Regions from separate parts of the Homo sapiens genome. Here regions 1, 3, 4, 5, 6 and 7 are each linked to region 2. Evidence: promoter capture Hi-C in 16 types of primary human blood cells and fetal thymus (Javierre and others, 2016). All regions are on one chromosome and are shown on one strand. Each heading gives the region's core, a stretch centred on a gene start or on the middle of the fragment in contact. The rest is flanking DNA. Distances are from core to core; before and after follow the strand shown.

Region 1 (2,864 bases), core at 336-2,835, 220 kb after region 2:
CTTGGTTTCTGAGCCTTTTTTCCAGACACAGGGAGTGCAAGTGTGAATCCTCCCAAACAGTGCAGCCCTCAGGGAATCAGAGAACCTAGAGCAGATGCCAGGTTATCTCTTTAGCCCAGGAGTAAATCTTCCCTGATGAGAAGGAAATTGGGCCACAAGATGTTTAAAACAGGCCATCTCCTTTCCCCGGAACAAAGAGCACCAGACAACTTCCTACCACTAGGGGGCACTGGGGACCACGTCATCTTCAGACTTGGATTCTGACCACAGCCGGCTTCAGCACCTTCTCTCTCTCACACTGCTCCTCACCCCTTGCCATGCTGTGGTGGTCCTCCCAGGGGTCAGCAAAGCAGGACCTGTCCCCTTTTAAAAGGAAACGAAGGCTGCTGCTTGTCATGAGGCTCTCGTGATGCCTGTTTGCCTGCAGGTTGTGAATGGATTTGGGAAGATGATTGAGCTCTTTAAAGACAAAGTTCTTTGGGAGAATGAGATCATGATGGTGTACCTAATCTGAGAGCTCATACTTGATTTTCCTAATGCCTTTGGTTTAAATGGGCCTGTGGTTCAGAAGGAATGGTGACACCACTTACTAAAAGTGCTCATTAAGGACACAGAGGCAGGAAATCCAATCTGAGATGCGGCTTCTGCAGGCAGGGGCTGAGTGGTGGGAGAGAGGAAGCATATGGTGGACTGTTACCATTCTATTCAGAATGGAGGTTCAGAATGGAGGTGTCACTTGGGGCGGTCAAAAGAGGCCTATTTCACAATAGCTGGGTTGGTACTGATGAGCTGATCTAAATAGCCAGGAATTTCCCTGGAATACCCTGACCAACAAGCCATTCCACTGCCCTCACTGTACTAACGGAGAAATGGCGGCTAAGGTGGTAAAAGGTGATGGATGGTAACTCCAGGGAAGGTCTGGAATCAGAACTCAGAGGCTCATCACACTTTCACCTGAGTCACTCGTCCACTTCCCAAACTCTTCTGACTCAGGATGATATGATCAGCCACATCCTTACCACAATGACAAGAGTCACTGGTGAGTGTGGGGCTACCATCCTGTCCACTGCCCTCTGTCACCTCCTCCACCCTACAGAGCACTCCTTCCTCTCCCTCTTGCTCCACCTATCCCAGTCACTCTGGGGCTATTGATGCTGCCCCAGCTTTATCCATCCTCCCACTTTCATCCATCCTCCCCCTGTCCTTACTCCTCACCTGGACAATTGCCACAGGCTCCCAATGAGCTTTTTTTGCTTCTTACTCTTTCTCTAGCCTATCCTTCTCATTGCAGGTTCAGGCTTTGGAGTCAAGCTTGGAGATTGGGGCTCGACCTGCAGTTCCTTGAATTATTAGTGTAAATGTCGCCGTGAACAAGATACTTAATTTTGCTAAGCCTTGGCTTTCTCATCTGCAAAATGGGATAAGAAGTCCTGTCTCATGGAGCCAGTATGAGGACTGAATGAAAAAAAATAAGACACTATAACTCTGTAAGAGACGGCAAGCTCCTCAATACAGACAGTTTGATCATGGTGCTGTTCAAAAACCTTTCATTAGGCTCCACTGCCCCTGAATTAAACCCAAGCTCCATAGCACTGAGGCCACTGCCACCTGACCCTAGCCTGGCAGCCAGGTTTACTTCCCTTCATAACTTCCCGCCACCTTTTCCTTTCTCTCCCTTCCCCCATTTTCCAGCCAACCTAAGTACCCCAGTCATCTCTACATTCCCAATTCCAACACAATGATGGGCAGGTAACAAGCACTGAGCAAATTTTCTTTCCTTCTGTGGTCACGAATGCCCATCTCTACCACACATATACATTTAACCTCTGCCCACCCATGTGTCAAAGTCCAGCACAAAAGAAGCTTCCTCCGTGAAGCCTTCCTTGATGTTCCTAGATGGAATTCAGCAGTCCTTCCTCTGTGCTTCTATTTTGATAACGCTAGACACACACTGTCCTATAGCATAGTTGAGTACAGATCCTATCTCTCCATCACCATGCAAGTTCTGAGGGTAGGGGCCTCACTCAGGGCACCTGGTACAGTGCCTAACATATAATAATGTTTAATACATGCTTGCTGAGTCAAATTCCTCAGCTTTACTTAAATATTAGCATATCTCTCATATTAAATCCCTCAGAAATGTCAATGAATATAAACGGAAGCCATTATTTGAAGTATCATTAATTTATTATAAGGTTAAATAAGCATCTTTAAAGAAGATGGAATTCTACAAGAACAGGAAGGGAAATCTTACAATTAAGTCAAATTGATAGTAAATATAATTATTTGACCAGCTTCCATTAAGGAAGTCCCCAGTGCAGAAAGCTGCTCTGGGGAGTCAAGTCAGGCATGCTGCTCATGGTAAAGTCATACACTGCGTTCATGCATTCAGAATCATCTCATTTCTTTTTTTTTTTTTTTTTTTTGAGACAGGGTTTCACTCTGTCGCCCAGGCTAAAGTGCAGTAGCATGAACACAGCTTACTGTAGCCTCAGTCTCCAGGGCTCAAGTGATCCTCCTGCCTCAGCCTCCAGAGTAGCTGGGATCACAGGCATGTGCCACCATGCCCAGCTAAATTTTACATGTTTTGTAAAGACGGGTTCTTACCATGTTTCCCAGGCTGGTCTCAAACTCCTGGGCTCAAGCAATCCTCCCACTTCGGTCTCCCAAAGTGCTGGGATTACAGGCTTGAGCCACCACACCCAGCCTCTTTTTTTCTTTCTCTTTTTTTTTTGAGACAGAGTCTTGCTCTGTTGCCCAGGCTAGAGTGTAGTGGTGCGATCTCAGCTCACTGCAACCTCCACCTCCTGGGTTCAAGCAGTTCTCCTGCCTCAGCCTCCCAAGTAGCTGGGATTACAGGCGCA
Region 2 (2,700 bases), core at 156-2,655:
CTCAAAGAAACCCCAAGTTATAAACAAGCAAGGTGGCCACTCCAGCAACTGGACCCCACAAGACAAAGGCACACAGCTGCAAGATCCCTCCTGAGTACCCCAAAGCATACTTTCTGCAGGAACTCTCCACTCTGTCCACACAAGCACAGTGGGGAAGTTTTGAGAACAAGTCATTTTTGGAATTAATGACTCTGCACAGATAGTTATAACCTTTCCTTCCCCCTAAAACGCAGTCACAAGGGCACTCCTAGGCTTACATGTCGAGCAAAACTTCTTGTTACTTTAATAAGGGAAGGATGCACACGATGAAAAACAGAAGCCCCCCCCCACCCCCCATCAGCACACATGAGAACAGGGTGGGGGCTTCCTTCTCTATTCAGCCACTAAGGTGCCCAAGTTTAATGGAAAAGGAAACTTAAAATATAAAGAATAAAAGTGGAAAGGGAACAGCCAGGGGAAGCTATAGATGCGGCTTATTAGGAAAGCTTGGGACAGAGATGGAACAGGTGGGCCTGTTCCGGAAGAAACGAGAGGAAGGGGATCTGGGGAAGAAGGCAGACTGGGTGGGTCCTACCCTGACAAAAGGGAAACTAAAGCTGAGGAAGAAGGGCCACGGAGAGGGAGGCGGGTACTGGGAAACGGAAGGCATGGCCCTAACACTCCAGGTGTTGAGAGGGATGCAAAGTAGCAGGATTTAAATGTGAACGGAGAAGGCAGATCCTTGAAGAGTGAAGGGGCAGAAAAGAGCTCAGCATCGCACTGGGGATTGAGGGATGTGGGTTCTAAGCACGAAGAGCCCCTGAGAAGGGGCGGACAAGGGGATGTCACCCTTGGGGGTCATGATTCCAGGCTGGGAAGTGGGGTAACAATTCGAGATGGTAAGGTGGGAGGTAGGCGAGTTTTAGACTGGCGTCTCAAAAGACAGACGTTTAAGGTGGAAAGGGGAAGGGTCACTCCTGTCTGGAGGCCACAGCGAGTAGGTGAGGGGCTCGGGCTACCCCTAGTGCAGGAATACCCAGCCTGGGTTTGCGGGGGAGGAGCAATTCGGGTCCCAAGGCCTGAACTCTCCGCGCAGGAGGGGCCCCCAGGGGGGCCGGGCCGCGGCTGCCGCGCAGGGCCTCCGGAGGGTCGGGGGGTCCCAGACTCACGCATTAACGTGCTGAAGGCCACGACGCCGAGCAGCCCCTGCAGGAAGATGCCGAAGCTGTGCATGAGCGCGCCGCTCTCGCAGCGGCCCGCCCCGGACGCGACTGTGGAGGGCGGCCCGCCTGGCAGTCCCCGGCTCGCGTTCCCGGCGGGGCCCTGCATGACAGGCCTCGCGGGAGGGGCGCGAGGGCCCAGGGCCCGCCCGGCCTCGCTGCCTGCCGGCGCAGCGCCGCCAAACCCGCAGCCGGGATCCCAAGCCTGAGCCGGTACCTCCGCCCGGCCGCCGACTCCGCGCCGCGCGTAACCCGACGTCTGAGATCGCAGTGCCTGATTGGCGCAGCCAAGGTTGGGGCGGGCCTCGGCCGCGGCAGCTCTCCCCACCCGCCCCCGAGGGGCGGGGCTCCGGCCGGGCCACGGGGCGGGGTCGCGGGTCCCGCTCCCCTCTCCAACCCCGCCACGCCCGCAGGTAGACAGGCCAGGTGAGCCGGCCACCGCAGACCGGAATGAGAGCCTGGGAATCACGAGCTCCAGGTCCGGAGGTAGGAGCTGGGACGGCCTGTGGTCAAATTATTTTTCCCTCTAAGGAAAATCCCTATATCCTGGAGAAATTATCATCATTCCTGAATTCCACCCTCAGAGATCGTGATTCAGTAGTTCTGGGGTGGGTCCCAATAGTTTGCAGCCTGGATTATTCTGAAGCAAGTGAATAAGGAAAACAATCTGAGACTGAGTACAGGAGTCTTCCCTCCAACCCAGACATTTGAGTCTTTTTCCTACTTCCCTAGCTAAAGGCTTATCAAGGCCCCAAGTCTATTTTCTTTTTTCATAGACATAATTTAAATGGTCACCTGAATCCAATCACTTTCATTTGGAAATATACCAGGTTTCACACTGAAAACCTGACGTGCACATGTCCCACCTTATTCACTTGGGGAGCACAACTACCTTTAGAGTGTAAAAGACAAATGGTTGGTATTTTCCAGGCTCCAACATCCCCCTGCACACACACACTCCCATCTAACCCTTTCCAACTTCTCAGAACCTGTGCTCTGCCTTTAACAAGACCCTGAGTCCCCATTCTCTCACCCATTCTCCCAGCCCAATCTGGGCTCTCTCTGGATACCTTCTTGTTGGTGCTCTAGAGCCGCTGACCTTCCTGCTGCAGAATGTCAGTGAACACATGGTGTAAGTCCAGTTGACACTCACCCATTCTCCCAGCCCAATCTGGGCTCTCTCTGGATACCTTCTTGTTGGTGCTCTAGAGCCGCTGACCTTCCTGCTGCAGAATGTCAGTGAACACATGGTGTAAGTCCAGTTGACACTCACCCATTCTCCCAGCCCAATCTGGGCTCTCTCTGGATACCTTCTTGTTGGTGCTCTAGAGCCGCTGACCTTCCTGCTGCAGAATGTCAGTGAACATATGGTGTAAGTCCAGTTGATACTGAGCTACGTGTTTTCAACGGTAAATATCATCTCTAGGAAAAAGTTTCCTATTAAATAGCCCCCCAAATTCCAATTACCTAAGAGGGTTATATGCTAGCTAAAAGCTTTCTT
Region 3 (2,829 bases), core at 70-2,569, 180 kb after region 2:
CAGGGCACTGGTTGCCCTCAGGATAATTTGTAATTAAATAGCAAGAAATACATAAAATACATAATATCAGGAGATAAAATCACTTATCAGGAAAAATAACACATGGTATAGAATATTTTAAACTTGGCCAGGCACAGTGGCTCACGCCTGTAATCCCAGTACTTTAGGAGGTCGAGGTGGGAGGATCAAGAGTGTGAGACTAGCCTGGGCAACATAGTGAGACCCCATCTCTACTAATAATTTTTAAAAAATTAGTCGGGTATGGTGGCTCATGCCTGTGGTCCCAGCTACTCCAGAGGCTGAGGCTAGAGGATCACTTGAGCCCTGGAGATTGAGGCTGCAGTAAGCTATGATTGCATCACTGCACTCCAGCCCAGGCAGCAGCTCCAGATCCTGTTTCAAAAAAAGGAATATTTTAATCTCCACCGTGACCTCTGTGCTGGACTAGCTCCCCTGCAGGACCCAGGCTCCAGCCTTGGTATGCACAGGCCCACTGGCTCTCCAACTCTCCATTCCACCCCAAAGAACTGCTGAACCCCAACTTTTCCTTGGCCCCACAATGGCCCTGGAGCAAGAGTGAGCAGGGATTATTAGAACCTTCTGCAGATGGAGAAAAGGCAAAGCTACCTGCTAGATCTCACAAGGAGTAAAAGGCAGGGCTGGGATCGGAATACAGTTCCGGGCTCTCCAGCTCTGTTGATTGTCTGGATCAACAGCAGGTCCTCTGGCCCAGTGGGCAGTGGGGATGTGGTAAAACATCATTTCCAAGCTTCAAAGGCAACCAGGACTCCTGCACAGTTGAAGGGAATGTCCCACAGACGCTGATAGAAATGAGGGAGGCCTTTAGCAGTGGGCTGTCGGATCAGAACCAGGTACACTCAGGTCACGGCTCTTTGACAATGAGAAGGAGGAAGAGGAAGGCCTGATGGATCCCCACTACTCAGATATGACCCACACCCCAAATGTCCATGGCCTCACACCTTCCCCAAGGATCAGCGCTGGGCCCAGACACATCTGGTGTCTCCCTGATGTCCACAAGTCTGTAGGCAGAACACTCTTCCCTTCCCAGGAAAACTCCACCTTATCAATAGTGTTCAGGACAGCACCCTAGGCTGGGCACAGTGGCTCACATGTGTAATCCCAGCACTTTGGGAGGCTGAGACGAGTGGATCACCTGAGGTCAGGAGTTCGAGACCAGTCTGGCCAACAGGGCAAAACCCTGTCTCTAGTAAAAATAGAAAAATTAGCTGGGCATGGTGGTGGGCGCCTGTAATCCCAGCTACTTGAGAGGCTGAGGCAGGAGAATCGCAGAGGTTGCAGTGAGCCTAGATCGCACTACTGCACACCAGCCTGGGCAACAGACCACGACTCTGTCAAAAGAAAAAGACAGCACCCTCTGGGCATCCTAAATTCAAAGCTGCTTCTGGCAGGAGAAACCAGTCCATCTTAACCTGGCATCCTACATCCCAGTGAAGTAAAAAAAACAACAAAGCAAATCAGTGTTTGCAACAAAACAAAACTCAGCAAGTTTCTGGATCAGCCTGTGATGAGTGGGTTCAAGGTGAGGACATTGGCAATTGGTGGGTGAGGCCATGTGGGGGTGCAGGGGTGTCCTCGTGGGCCACCGTGGCCCGGGCCTTGGAAAGCCGAGACCAGGAGAGCTCATGCCTGTGGCCACCCAACACATGGCAGGGCCCATTCATGCCTTTCCACTTTCTTCAGAAACTGCCACAGCAGCTGTCCCTCCCTGGACAAAGCCACCTTCTTTCCTGACGCCAGGGCCCCATTTTCTTTCTGTCTTAATCTAAGGCTGATGGGAAATATAAACAACTAGCTGAGGCAATTTCTGAAATTGGTGGAAATCATTTAACAAGCTTCTGGAGCATCCCTTCTTGTCCTGGGGAGGTGTGCGGAATGTGTGTCTGAAAGAGCATTTGCTGGCAGCCATGGCGTTTCTTCCCCGGGCCTAGTCACTGGGGTTTCCAAGGCTAAGGACACCTCAAATCCACATCCAGATGCCTGGCTCTGCACAGTCTCCCTGCCTGACACCCTTACCCGCCAAAGCTCCTGCAGGGCCAGCTGGGCCTAAAAGCAGTTTTCGTTTCTTCTTCACCTGCAGCTTCGTCTTTCAGGAGAGGGTAAAGCAATGTTTCCATTGGAATTTTAAAAGATGCTCCACCACCACGTGCACTTCTGTGGACTGGGGTTAGGTGGGAGGAGGAAGCAGTAGTGGGGAAACAAACGATTCCAGGGACCACAGTCCCTCTGTAACCTTGTGTTGGGCAGATTTAAAATTCCACTCGTTCAAGTCCACTAGGCTAGAGCTAGGCATCCCTGTCTAGTGCTTTACCTACCTCCTCTCACTCCTTACTACACCCTATGAGGCAAGTGCTATTGTGCCCATTTTTAGATGAGTAAACTGAGGCACAGGGGGATCAAGCACTTTGCTCAAAGATTCACAGCTTGAAGGGGGTAGGGTAGCAGGGTAGCTGGGCTGGGTCCAGTGACTAGGCCTGGGGAAGCAAAGCCACAGCTGCCTCAAAGCCCTCTCTGGACACGTTTCCCTCCCCGCCAAACTCCTGGCCCCACCACACACACCTGCCTTTCTAATTCTCAAGGGAGAAAGAATATAGGGCTGTTGCAAGAAAGGACGAGGAGCCTGATGGGGACAGAGCAGCCTAGGGGGGTCATAAGAACAGGGCCACCAGGCCTGACACAGGCGAGTGCCTCCCTGGCTGGGGCATGGGGAGAGGTGTGAGGATGAGGCTGGGCAGTGCTGGTTCCAGGGCTCCTGAGGACATCATAAGAACCAGCCCAAATGAAGCCAAG
Region 4 (2,703 bases), core at 152-2,651, 160 kb after region 2:
TCCGGAGTGTAATGGCGTGATCTCAGCTCACCGCAACCTCCGCCTCCCAGGTTCAAGGGATTCTCCTGCCTCAGCCTCCCGAGTAGGTGGGATTACAGGCATGCGCCACCACACCCCGCTAATTTTTTGTATTTTTAGTAGAGACGAGGTTTCACCACATTGTCCAGGCTGGTCTTGAACTCCTAACTTCAGGTGATCCGCCTGCCTTGGCCTCCCAAAGTGCTGGGATTACAAGCGTGAGCCACCACAACTGGCCCCCTGGTGCCACTTTTTAAAAATCTTGCATAACTCCACAGTTCTCAAAATAGCTAATGAAGAAACCATGTCTCCAATAATTTCGATACAAGCTGTAAGTGCCTTAAAAATTTCAGCTCTGGCATTACTTCTATTTAAAAGTGTCAAGATAAAAGTTCACTGAAACATCTGCTGCCACTATTACTTTAGGAATCTGTATCCATTTAGGGATTTTTTTCTTCTAGAGTATTATAGCCAGTTTGTCAATAAAAAGTAGCATTCAGTATGCTTAACTTTCACTATCAAAAAATGATCTGCTAAGAAGTGACAGTTGGATTTAATCCAAGAAGTCCTTGTTTTCTATTTTACAAGAACTCAACTTTCCCAATTAAGTTGTTAGTCATTAAGATAGGTACCCTTTCCAAAAGTGATTCAACAGCCTGGTTTTTAGCAAATAAAAACTCCATATAAAATTCAATTTAAAAAATTAAACATAAGCACACAGGAGGCCAGGCGCGGTGGCTCACGCCTGTAATCCTAGCACTTTGGGAGGCCAAGGTGGGTGGATCACCTGAGGTCAGGAGTTTGAGACCAGCCTGGCCAACATGGTGAAACTCCGTCTCTACTAAAAATACAAAAATTAGCTGGGTGTGATGGTGCACGCCTGTAATCCCAGCTAATCGGGAGGCTGAGGAAGAAGAATTGCTTGAACCTGGGAGGTGGAGGTTGCAGTGAGCCGAGATGGCACCATTGCACTCCAGCCTGGGCGACAGGAGCGAGACTCCATCACAAAAAAAAGCACACAAGGATGTGCACACAGTTCAGAAACCAGGAAACGCGTGACGATAAACAGGATCCTATTTGATTGTCTTTATGACTTTTAAGAAGTGAGCATGACGCTGGTGCAGTGGCTCACGCCTGTAATCCCAGCACTTTGGGAGGCCGAGGTGGGTGGATCACCTGAGGTCAGGAGTTCAAGACCAGTCTGGCCAAAATGGTGAAACCCCGTCTCTACTAAAAATACAAAAATTAGCTGGGCGTGGTGGCATGTACTCCCAGCTACTTGGGAGGCTGAGGCAAGAGAATTGCTTGAACCTGGGAGGCGGAGATTGCAGTGAGCTGAGATCGCACCACTGCACTCCAGCCTGGGTGACAGAGCGAGACTCCATCTCAAAAAAAAAAAAAAAAAGAAGTGAGCATGAAAATAAATCTTTATTTTCAGTTATTACCCACCAGTAAGAGAAAGGTTCACAATTTTAGCTCTTGATACAAAGTGAACTAGGAGGCAAATTTATATCCATCAGATACAACTAATGGACCAACTTTTTAAGTTCTGGCTATCTTGAAAACTTGCAACATACCAGGTATTGCTGTGTTGTCTCTCAAGATAGCAATGAGTGACACTGCGTAGAAGTTGTGAAGTGTTTTTAATAGCAGGTGTTTTCTATAATATGCTGCTGGAAATCAGAGGTTTATAAACATGGTACATGTTCAGAAATGAGTTAGATACTTGAAAAATCTAAACACACTGATTTAGGAGTGTGTATGTTGCAGTCTTAAGAGGGGTCAATAGTCCTTACGGACTAAATTAATCTCTGGGTAGCAGGTATATTAGACATTAGCATCAGTGCAGAACATGCTCAGCATAAGATCCAAAACACCAGCACAAGTTTATCCATCATTAAAAACAATTACCTCCTTCCTAAAATATCAGAATAGTAGGTAACTGAGATTAATAAATCTAATCCAAATAAGTAACTCTTGTAATGCACAATTTCCCTTTTAGAAGTATATGTGAGAACCAATCAGCTAAATAGAAATGTTTAAGATTGAAGATGTCCAATATTTTTAAAACTGGACATTACCATATACAGGTAGAACATTTCTAAAAATGAAGTGACGAACGATTCTTAAAACTTTTTTAAAAATTCCTTCCCTGTTTAACAATAAATGTGGCAGAATAAAAGACAATCCTAGAAAACTTTTCTTATTCATCATTCTCTCCATGGATGTTTTAATACGTGGTGATGCTCCCATTAAAGGAATCCATTATTAACCTAATTTTCTAATGGAGGAAGAGGGAGAAGATAATTATTACTTTCTGTGGAACAAATACTCAACTTAGGACCAAATAATAACAATCTAGGAAATTTAGAAACAGTAAAGATTTTCGGTTTATATTTAATGGATGGTGCTGCTGTTCTAACCTTATAAAGTAAAGCTGTCTGCTTCCCAAATTCCAAAAATTAAAATACTCCCCAACCTCATCCTACCAACCAGTGCCCTTTAGATTTTTTTGCTTGTTTTAGAACAAGGAAGGTTTAAATGGTTGCTGATTATGGATATACCATTTTGATTTTAGGATCTTTCACACACAGAAATCATACCAAATGGCCAGACACTTACTGTATAGAACACTTTAAATATTACACATTGGCCAAATCAACTTATTCCACCCACCCTGGTGGA
Region 5 (2,810 bases), core at 44-2,543, 200 kb after region 2:
ATAATCCACTTCAGGAAAAAATGAGAATTTTAAAAATGCAATTAAAATATCACTTTTTTGGCCGGGCACGGTGGCTCATGCCTGTAATCCCAGCACTTTGGGAGGCCGAGGCGGGTAGATCGCGAGGTCAAGAGATCGAGACCGTCCTGGCCAACATGGTGAAACCCTGTCTCTACTAAAAATACAAAAATTAGCTGAGCTTGGTGGTGCACGTCTGTAGTCCCAGCTACTCAGGAGGCTGAGGCAGAATTGCTTGAACCCGGGATGCGGGGGTTGCAGTGAGCCAAGATCACGCCACTGTACTCCAGCCTGGAGACAGAGCAAGACTCCGTCTTAAAAAAAAAAAATCACTTTTTAAAATCAAAGCAAAATTATTAATCGGTGACAATATGACTATCCTGTAAGGTTTGGTTAACATAAACAGTAAATTATTTATGAATACTTATTTCTCCATGGTCCCAAGAAAATACTGGACTTAAAATCAGGCTTATTAAAAGATGGACTGGCTGGGCACAGTGGCTCATGCCTGTAATCCCAGCATTTGGGAGGCTAAGGCAGGCAGATCGCTTGAGCCCAGGAGTTGGAGACCAGCCTGGGAAACATGGTGCCCAGAGACTCCGTCTCTACAAAAAATACAAAAATTAGCTGGGCATGGTAGTACACACCTATAGTCTCAGCTACTCAGGAGGTTGAGGTGGAAGGATCGATTGAGCCTAAGAAGTCAGGCTGTAGTGAGCTATGATTGTACCACTGCACTTCAGCCTGGGCGACAGAGTGAGACCCTGTCTCAAAAAAAGTTAAAAAAAAAAAAAAGGCATGGATGGTCGAGGATATCAACTGTAGCACCACCTGAAGAAGCCCCCAGCAGGTGCTGGTTGAATACATCAAGGCACAGCCATACAATCGAGCCTTCACAGCCATGAAAAGGATGGCACTGATATCTTATGTGCCAAAGTGAGAAGATCATACCCAGCCTTCATTTGACAGTTATGGAGTCCACTTTGGCACTCAAAGGCCAACAAATCAGACAAAGGAGCTGTCAATCTTGGGCCTTTACACAACTGATCTGCCTAGAAGTCTCTGCCCCCATCTTAGACCACCTTCTTGGTCATCCTAAATGGCGCTGTGCCATAGGGGCCTGCCCAGCAAACCCAATCTAAAGGGCCCCTACCACTCACTATATACCCGTTTTCATTCTCAGCACATCACATTTTCTTATTAATTTACTTGTTTGCTATCTGCCTCCCCACCGTCAGCTCCAGGAGAGCAGAAATCCCATCTGTCTTATTCATTGCTGTATTCCTAGAGCTTAAAACAATGCCTGTTAGAGAGTAGATGCTCAAAAGTATTTGCGAAATGAAAGAAAATTAGACAGCCTTAACAAAACAACAAAAATTCTTCAATAAGGCATAATGAAAAATCCATCAATCAGATTCTATATATATTATGAGGTTATTAAAAAAAAAGCAACCAGGCCGGGCACGTTGGCTCACTCCTATAATCCCAGCACTTTGGGAGGCTGAGATGGGCAGATCACCTGAGGTCAGGAGTTCGAGACCAGCCTGGCCAACATGGTGAAACCCTGTCTCTACTAAAAATAAAAATAAAATTAGCTGGGCATGGTCGCACACCTGTAATCCCAGCTAATCGGGAGGCTGAGTCGGGAGAATCACTTGAACCTGGGAGGCGGAGGCTGCAGTGAGCCAAGATCACACCACTGTACTCCAGCCTGGGCCACAGAGCGAGACTCTTGTCTCAAAAAAAAGCAACCTGCAATTCAAAGGATGTTTTAATATTTCATATACAACCAAATGCTCTCTTCTCTCTATATATTTTTTGAGACAGAATCTCTCTGTTGCCTAGGCTGGAGTGCAATGGCATGATCTCCGCTCACTGCAACCTCCGCTTCCCAGGTTCAAGTGATTCTTGTGCTTCAGCCTCGCGGGTAGCTGGGATTACAGGCGTGCGCCCCTACGCCCAGCTAATTTTTGTATTTTTAGTAGAGACAGGGTTTCACCATGTTGGCCAGGCTGGTCTCGAACTCCTGACCTCAGGTGATCCACCTGCTTTGGCATCCCAAAGTGCTGGGATTACAGGTGTGAGCCACCGTGCCCGGCCCAAATGCTCTATTTTTATTCAGAAAAACACTGGTTAACCTTAAGTTGGTTAAGTAAAATGCCTGCTTTTTTTCTATTCAGAATCTGAAATGTCCAATGCAAAGTCATTATAATTGATTGTAACAGTTAACTAAGCTATCCAATTCTACTATAAAAATCCTTGCTAGAGTTTTTTGTCTGTTAAAATTCACAGAGATTAAAAAAAAAAAATGCCAACGTCTGTGATGAGCCCAGGTATTCCACGTGCTCAGACCAGGGCCAGGCGCTGGGGCCAGGGGCCCAGAAAGAACTGGAACTATTGTGTTTTATACATGTCTGAAAACTGCACTTAATATCACATTTTACTCTTAGGGGAGGTGAGTTACCCCACATGGGAACTGCACTAGAAGGTGCTCTGGGCTCTGTTTTTTCTCTATGTTGACTAATACTATGAAAATAATTTTCCACATGTTTATATACTATCGAAATTCCATTACAGCTAACTTAAAAAGTTGTTTCCTTTGGTTCAATACAATATAAGAGAAAAGAAAGCAACCAGCCACTATCCATATTCCCTCACAATTTGGTTGCAATGTATAAAAACATCTTAAATGGGTTTGGTTTTCATTCACCCCTTCAACACTAACACTGAAGTTACCGTAACAAAATTCCCTTCAAGGAGATACACTCCTAGTCCTGCTCTTTCCACTCTAA
Region 6 (2,970 bases), core at 55-2,554, 140 kb after region 2:
CTGGCTGCGGGATCATGCAGCCCTCCTCAAGCACTTGCTGCAGAAAAGGAAGACTCTCCCTAGAAGGGGAGGCCAGAAGAGACCACCCAGCCCTCTGCTTCCCTTGTCATAGCCATTCCTGAGAATGGAGCCTGACAACAAAGAAAGTCATTTGAAGCTCTTCTCTGTTGATTGAGGAGCCCAATTGAATACTTACAGGAAAACTGGGTACAGATAATGCCTAGGAGAAGATCTAAGCCTGTTTCCCAATTTGCATATGGTGTTATTCATATTAACGATAAAGAAAACTACGTATTTTTAAGTGCAACTATAACTTGATTGAGGACTGGAAAGCCAACATTAAAAGAGAAATAAAATTAAATTAATATTAATTACATTAAGAGATCAAGGGATTCAGATGTTTTAATACCATCATAAACACCTATAACAACAATAATACACCCGAAGTTTCTCAAATTTCTATCTTTAGCTAGACCACCCAACCCTGCTCATTTTGCTCAATGATAAAAATGAAAACCAGGCTGGGCATAGTGGCTCATGCCTGTAATCCCAGCACTTTGGGAAGCTGAGGCTAGAGAATCACTTGAGGCCAGAAGTTTTGAGACCAGGTTGGACAACACTGAGAGACCCCATCTCTACAAAAAATGTTTTAAAGGCCCGGCGCAGTGGCTCACACCTGTAATCTCAGCACTTTAGGAGGCCAAGGCGGATGGATCGCCTGAGGTCAGGGGTTCAAGACCAGCCTGGCCAACATGATGAAACCCTGTCTCTACCAAAAAATACAAAAAATTAGCCAGGCATGGTGGCAGGCACCTGTAATCCCAGCTACTCGGGAGGCTGAGGTAGTAGAATCACTTGAAACCAGGAGGCGGAGGTGGCCAAGATTGCACCGCTGCACTCCAGCCTGGGCAACAAGAGCAAAACTTTGTCTCAAAAAAAAAATGTTTTAAAAAATTAGCCAGGTGCTGGGGCATGCACCTGTAGTCCTAGCTACTCAGGAGGCTGAGGCAGGAGAAGTGCTTGAGCCCAGGCACTCCAGTTTAGACAACTGTCTCCTACCCTGTATCTCCTCCCCTAACCATTGACTTTTACTACCGTGGCTCTATGCTCTATTAGACAACATCATGCCAAAGAAACTGATACTTTCTCAGAAAAGCCTTACTAACTCTAGGAAACAACTAACCATTCTTAAGAATTGAATAGTAACACAACGCACAATAAAAATCAGGCTTCATGACATTTACTGTCTATTCTTCAATGGTTTCCAGAAAGTCAAAAACATCCTTGCCATGAAGAAAGGACAGTAATTAAGAGATGGCCTCCCCCCGGTAACAAACAGTATTAGGAAACTCATCCCACATTTACTACATTAATACAGCCATTAAAAATAATAATGGAGGAAAATATAACTCTTTAACCATTCTGAAAGTACATACCTGCTCAACTCTCTATTACCCTTAACTGTCAAACCTGCTTTCTCTCCAACCAGGATTGGACATCTATATTTCACAAATACAGAATTAAAGTGATACAGCAAATCTAAAATACAAAGCATTAATTAGGTGGTATCATTATTATGTAAGTCATTAAGCCTTTTTAAACACGTACTAGTTTTCTATCAATACAGAAACAAGAGTGAAATATGGCAAAACCTCAACTAACCAGAACAGCTGGGGATTGAGTCACTGAATATGCCTTTCAGATAGGTGAAGGCTTATTTACAATTCTGAACACACATATTTTTTTGGTTAACTGTTCTGGACGACATGCTTTGACACAGGCCCACACCACGAATGTCAGTGATCACACAGTAAGATGGCATCCTGAGACCCAAAAGGCCTTACTCCTTACTCAATGTTACCCTGGACTCCTGCAACCTTTGCTTTTATGTTCTCCTTGTCTTCCACCCTGCTGTCACAATCTGCTCTGTTTCTTTTGTTCGAATAAGCAAGTGTGCCCAAACTGTATCTAAGGACAAGGTACCTGGTTCTCTAGGCTCTGCTGGGCACATACGGAGTTCTTCCAAGGGAGGTAAACAAATCCTAGCAAACAGTATTCTGTGACCTGACCTCCACTTTACCTGCTGTGGAAGTCTTTCAAATAATTTACTTCCTCAAAAAAAATTCTGACACATGCTACAACATGGATGAACCTTAAAGACATTATGTTAAGTGAATTAAGGCAATCACAAAAGGATAAATACTGTATGATTCCACTTAGATGAAGTACCTAGAATAGTCAAAATCATAAAGACAGAAAGTAGAACAGTGGTTGTCTAGGGTGGGAGGAGGGGAGTTGGGGAATCCCTGTTTCATGGGTACAGAGTTCCAGTCTGGGAAGATTAAAAAAGTTCTAGAGATGGATGGTGGTAATGGTTACACAACAATGTCAATGTACTTAATGCCACTGACCTGTACGTGTAAAAGTGGTTAAAATGGTACAATTCATGCTATATGTATATAACTTACCACAACCATACGTTTACAGAGTCTCTCTCTGTTGCCCAAGCTGGAGTGCAGTGATGTCATCTCAGCTCACTGCAACCCCCACCTCCTGGGTTCAAGCAATTCTCCTGCCTCAGCTTCCCAAGCAGCTGGGACTACAGGTGTCCGCCACCACACCTGGCTAATTTTGGTATACTTTTTTTTTATTTGATTTCATTTAAGTTCCAGGATACATGTGCAGGATGCGCAGGTTTGTTACATATAAACATTTTTAATAATAAAAATTTATATCCTCATTATATATCACTATGTTCTAGACAGGCAATATGCTAAGTGCATTGGTGTGATCACCATCTAACCACTCCAAGAGGGTTATTTTATGACGCAAGTCAAAATGAGACCAAAAGGTATCTTAAAGTTACAATTCAAAATTACCATATACTATTTTTAACACAGAAAAAGCATATTTTAGAAGAACCGATCCTTAAGAAAGAACACTAGAAAAAACTGAGAGACAGGAAAGCAC
Region 7 (2,700 bases), core at 158-2,657, 160 kb before region 2:
ACATATTTAAGGAGCCTAATATACATGTAATTGGAATCCCTAAGAGGGCAGGAAGAAGTCCAAAAAAAAAATGTGAAGAAATAATGGCCAGGCGGGGCGTGGTGGCTCACGCCTGTAATCCCAGCACTTTGGGAGGCCGAGGTGGGCAGATCACGAGGTCAGGAGATCGAGACCATCCTGGCTAACACGGTGAAACGCCATCTCTACTAAAAAAATACAAAAAACTAGCCGGGCATGGTGGCGGACGCCTGTGGTCCCAGCTACTTGGGAGGCTGAGTCAGGAGAACGGTGTGAACCCGGGAGGCGGAGCTTGCAGTGAGCGGAGATTGTGCCACTGCACTCCAGCCTGGGCAACAAGAGCGAAACTCCGTCTCAAAAAAAAAAAAAAAAAAAAAAGAAGAGACACTTTTAGCTCCAGCATATGCCACAAACCATTTATAATTTTATCAGTGGGAATACTAGAGATCTAAATACTACTGAAAATGCACATTTAATATTCATTAAAACAGAAATAGTTTATAAAGGGAGACAGAAAAACAAGAACTTACCCTTCCCCGTAATCCCCATCTGACTTATCAGTTGAACTTGTAGAAGAACTTAACTCATCCTCAGACAGACAATGAATCTGTTTCCTTTCCTATTAAATGTTTGGAAGAATTAAAATTCTACATGACAACACAACCAGAATGTGATACTTGAACCAGTCTTAGATGCAACAACTAGACACAATACGTTCCTAGGTGCAATATAACAGGAGAATCTAACAAATACAAAAATTGTTCCCATATGATTTGTGGCAAAAAGAAAAAAACATTGAAGTGATTTTACCCGTGATATCCCAGTTCACTCATAAAGTCCACAAGAATAACTGAAGAACATCAGATGAAGTTTTTTATTTTGTTTGTTTTTTTTTTGTTTTGATTTTTGTGTTTTTTTGAGACAGAGTCTTGCTCTGTCGCCAGGCTAGAGTGCAGTGGCACGATCTCGGCTCACAGCAACTTCCGACTCTCTGGTTCAAGTGATTTTCCTGCCTCAGCCTCCCGAGTAGCTGGGATTACAGGCACGTGCCGCAACGCCCAGCTAATTTTTGTATTTTTAGTAGAGACAGGGTTTCACCATGTTGGCCAGGCTGGTCTCCAACTCTTGACCTCATGATCCGCCTGCCTCAGCCTCCCAAAGTGCCGGGATTACAGGCATGAGCTACCGCGCCTGCCCAAGGTGAAGTTTTACAAAGGTCCTGGAGAGTCTCAGCTGTGAAGAAATTTCCAGAGGACAGTGGATGGCTAGTTCTGGTTTATCAACTCCTAAGCAGAAGGCTTGTTCTATAGGAATGTTGGCATTTTAAATTACCTAGGCAAACTCAGCTTGTCTTTTTTTTTTTCTTTTTTTTGGATACAGGGGTGTCACTATGTTGTCCAGGCTGGCCACAAACTCCTGGGCTCAAGCAATCCTCCTTCCTTGGCCTCCCAAGTAGCTGAGATAACACCCACAAGCCACCATGCCCAGCTTCAGCTTGCTCTTAATGTGAGACTGTTAAAGTGCTTTAAAGGATCACCTAAAAATACACATAAACCTTACAACTCTGAGATATGGAAGGCAGCCTCTATTAGTGAAATAACTAAATGATATAGTTAAAGAAATAATACATCCAATACTTTCAAAGAACAGGAAGAATTCCCAGAGTATTATACAGAGAGGTGAACATGGGTTAGAAACCTAGTAATTACCCATTTAGCCACCAGATGGTGTCCCTACATCATCTACAGGCAAGAAGGTAAACTACATTGACACAAATAAGAAACTGAGGAATGATTAGCAAGTGAGACTCAAATCTGGCGACACAGATGGGTATGTTGGTATCACAGCAGATTGAGCAAAGTGCTGCCTAGTGCAAGCCCTTAGAAAGTTCTGTTATTTATTTACTTATTTATTTATTTATATTTTTGAGACAGAGTCTTGCTCTGTCACCTAGGCTAAAGCACAGTGGTGTGAACACAACTCACTGTAGCCTCAACCTCTTGGGCTCAAGTGATCCTTCCACCTCAGCCTCCCGAGTGGCTGGGACTACAGGTGTGCGCCACCTTGCCAGGTAATTTTTTTTTCTTAGAGACAGGGTCCAACTATATTGCCCAGATTGATCTCAAACTCCTGGGCTAAAGCAATCTTCTCACCTTGGCCTCCCAAAGTGCTAGTATTATAAGCGTGAGCCACTGCATCAGGCCAGGAAGTCCTGTTAAGACCAACCTATGAAATATTTTTAATTAGGCTATCAATTGTTTACAAGAGTACCTGAAAAATTTATTCCCTTAATGGGTCAATCATAATCCTTTTGACTATTATTTACCAGTTCCTTTCTTTATCAAGAGTGAAAAGATATAACAAGCTGGCCCTGTCCCAAAAATAAATGGAGCTGACATTTAAAAGGTTTACTGCATTAGGCCTGCCAGATGTAGACTGTCCACCTTCTCTCTTAGGAGTACGTAATGCACCTGAGTGACGCTGCAGTCAGAGGAGAGCCGTCGGGCAGGCAAGGGCTGGTCTTCTTCCTGGGGTTTTCCTGGCCCTGCTACACTCAGAGACGCTTTCCTCACTGAAGGGCCTGAAAAGGCAAACATCCCCAGTAGTTGTTTGTGGTGGGCTGCCCCAGTTGAAAAGGGCTTTGTATTTGGTATGGAACATACCCCAGCAGGAGCTAGCCCA

Evidence for each region. The method cuts DNA at HindIII sites, captures the fragments that hold promoters and counts their contacts. A CHiCAGO score of 5 or more calls a contact.
Region 1: a contact is called between a fragment that was not itself captured here and the fragment with the promoter of STIMATE in region 2, in 1 of 17 cell types (naive CD4 T cells). The highest score is 5.3, in naive CD4 T cells.
Region 3: a contact is called between a fragment that was not itself captured here and the fragment with the promoter of STIMATE in region 2, in 15 of 17 cell types (naive B cells, non-activated CD4 T cells, M0 macrophages and 12 more). The highest score is 9.7, in naive B cells.
Region 4: a contact is called between a fragment that was not itself captured here and the fragment with the promoter of STIMATE in region 2, in 6 of 17 cell types (naive CD4 T cells, naive CD8 T cells, M1 macrophages and 3 more). The highest score is 7.7, in naive CD4 T cells.
Region 5: a fragment that was not itself captured here is called in contact with the fragment with the promoter of STIMATE in region 2 in 2 of 17 cell types (M1 macrophages and naive CD8 T cells); the score reaches 5.7 in M1 macrophages.
Region 6: a fragment that was not itself captured here is called in contact with the fragment with the promoter of STIMATE in region 2 in 6 of 17 cell types (total B cells, naive CD8 T cells, non-activated CD4 T cells and 3 more); the score reaches 7.0 in total B cells.
Region 7: a contact is called between a fragment that was not itself captured here and the fragment with the promoter of STIMATE in region 2, in 3 of 17 cell types (M2 macrophages, M1 macrophages and M0 macrophages). The highest score is 8.4, in M2 macrophages.

The regions. Positions count from the first base shown.
Region 1 is chr3:53,113,886-53,116,749 of GRCh38, forward strand. The region is part of intron 6 of RFT1 (RFT1 glycolipid translocator homolog); the gene reads right to left. Among named protein-coding and RNA genes, the nearest start is that of RFT1, 15 kb to the right of the region's middle. RefSeq lists an enhancer at 449-1,648. The HindIII fragment of the contact is 552 bases long and covers 1,310-1,861 here.
Region 2 is chr3:52,896,143-52,898,842 of GRCh38, forward strand. It overlaps STIMATE (STIM activating enhancer), which reads right to left and starts at 1,406. Exons shown (of 8, transcript NM_198563.5): 1 at 1,149-1,406. The coding sequence starts at 1,308. STIMATE-MUSTN1 (STIMATE-MUSTN1 readthrough) reads right to left here and starts at 1,406. Exons shown (of 10, transcript NM_001198974.3): 1 at 1,149-1,406. The coding sequence starts at 1,308. RefSeq lists a silencer at 959-1,668. The HindIII fragment of the contact is 2,208 bases long and covers 484-2,691 here.
Region 3 is chr3:53,078,342-53,081,170 of GRCh38, forward strand. It overlaps a transcript of RFT1 not described here. Among named protein-coding and RNA genes, the nearest start is that of SFMBT1, 34 kb to the left of the region's middle. The HindIII fragment of the contact is 1,105 bases long and covers 768-1,872 here.
Region 4 is chr3:53,060,401-53,063,103 of GRCh38, forward strand. It overlaps the pseudogene SERBP1P3. Among named protein-coding and RNA genes, the nearest start is that of SFMBT1, 16 kb to the left of the region's middle. The HindIII fragment of the contact is 4,855 bases long and covers 1-2,703 here.
Region 5 is chr3:53,094,927-53,097,736 of GRCh38, forward strand. The region is part of intron 11 of RFT1 (RFT1 glycolipid translocator homolog); the gene reads right to left. Among named protein-coding and RNA genes, the nearest start is that of RFT1, 34 kb to the right of the region's middle. The HindIII fragment of the contact is 6,189 bases long and covers 1-2,810 here.
Region 6 is chr3:53,037,173-53,040,142 of GRCh38, forward strand. The region is part of intron 1 of SFMBT1 (Scm like with four mbt domains 1); the gene reads right to left. Among named protein-coding and RNA genes, the nearest start is that of SFMBT1, 7.4 kb to the right of the region's middle. The HindIII fragment of the contact is 9,921 bases long and covers 1-2,970 here.
Region 7 is chr3:52,740,863-52,743,562 of GRCh38, forward strand. It overlaps NEK4 (NIMA related kinase 4), which reads right to left. Exons shown (of 16, transcript NM_003157.6): 12 at 2,490-2,599; 13 at 549-637. Among named protein-coding and RNA genes, the nearest start is that of NEK4, 29 kb to the right of the region's middle. The HindIII fragment of the contact is 6,871 bases long and covers 1-2,700 here.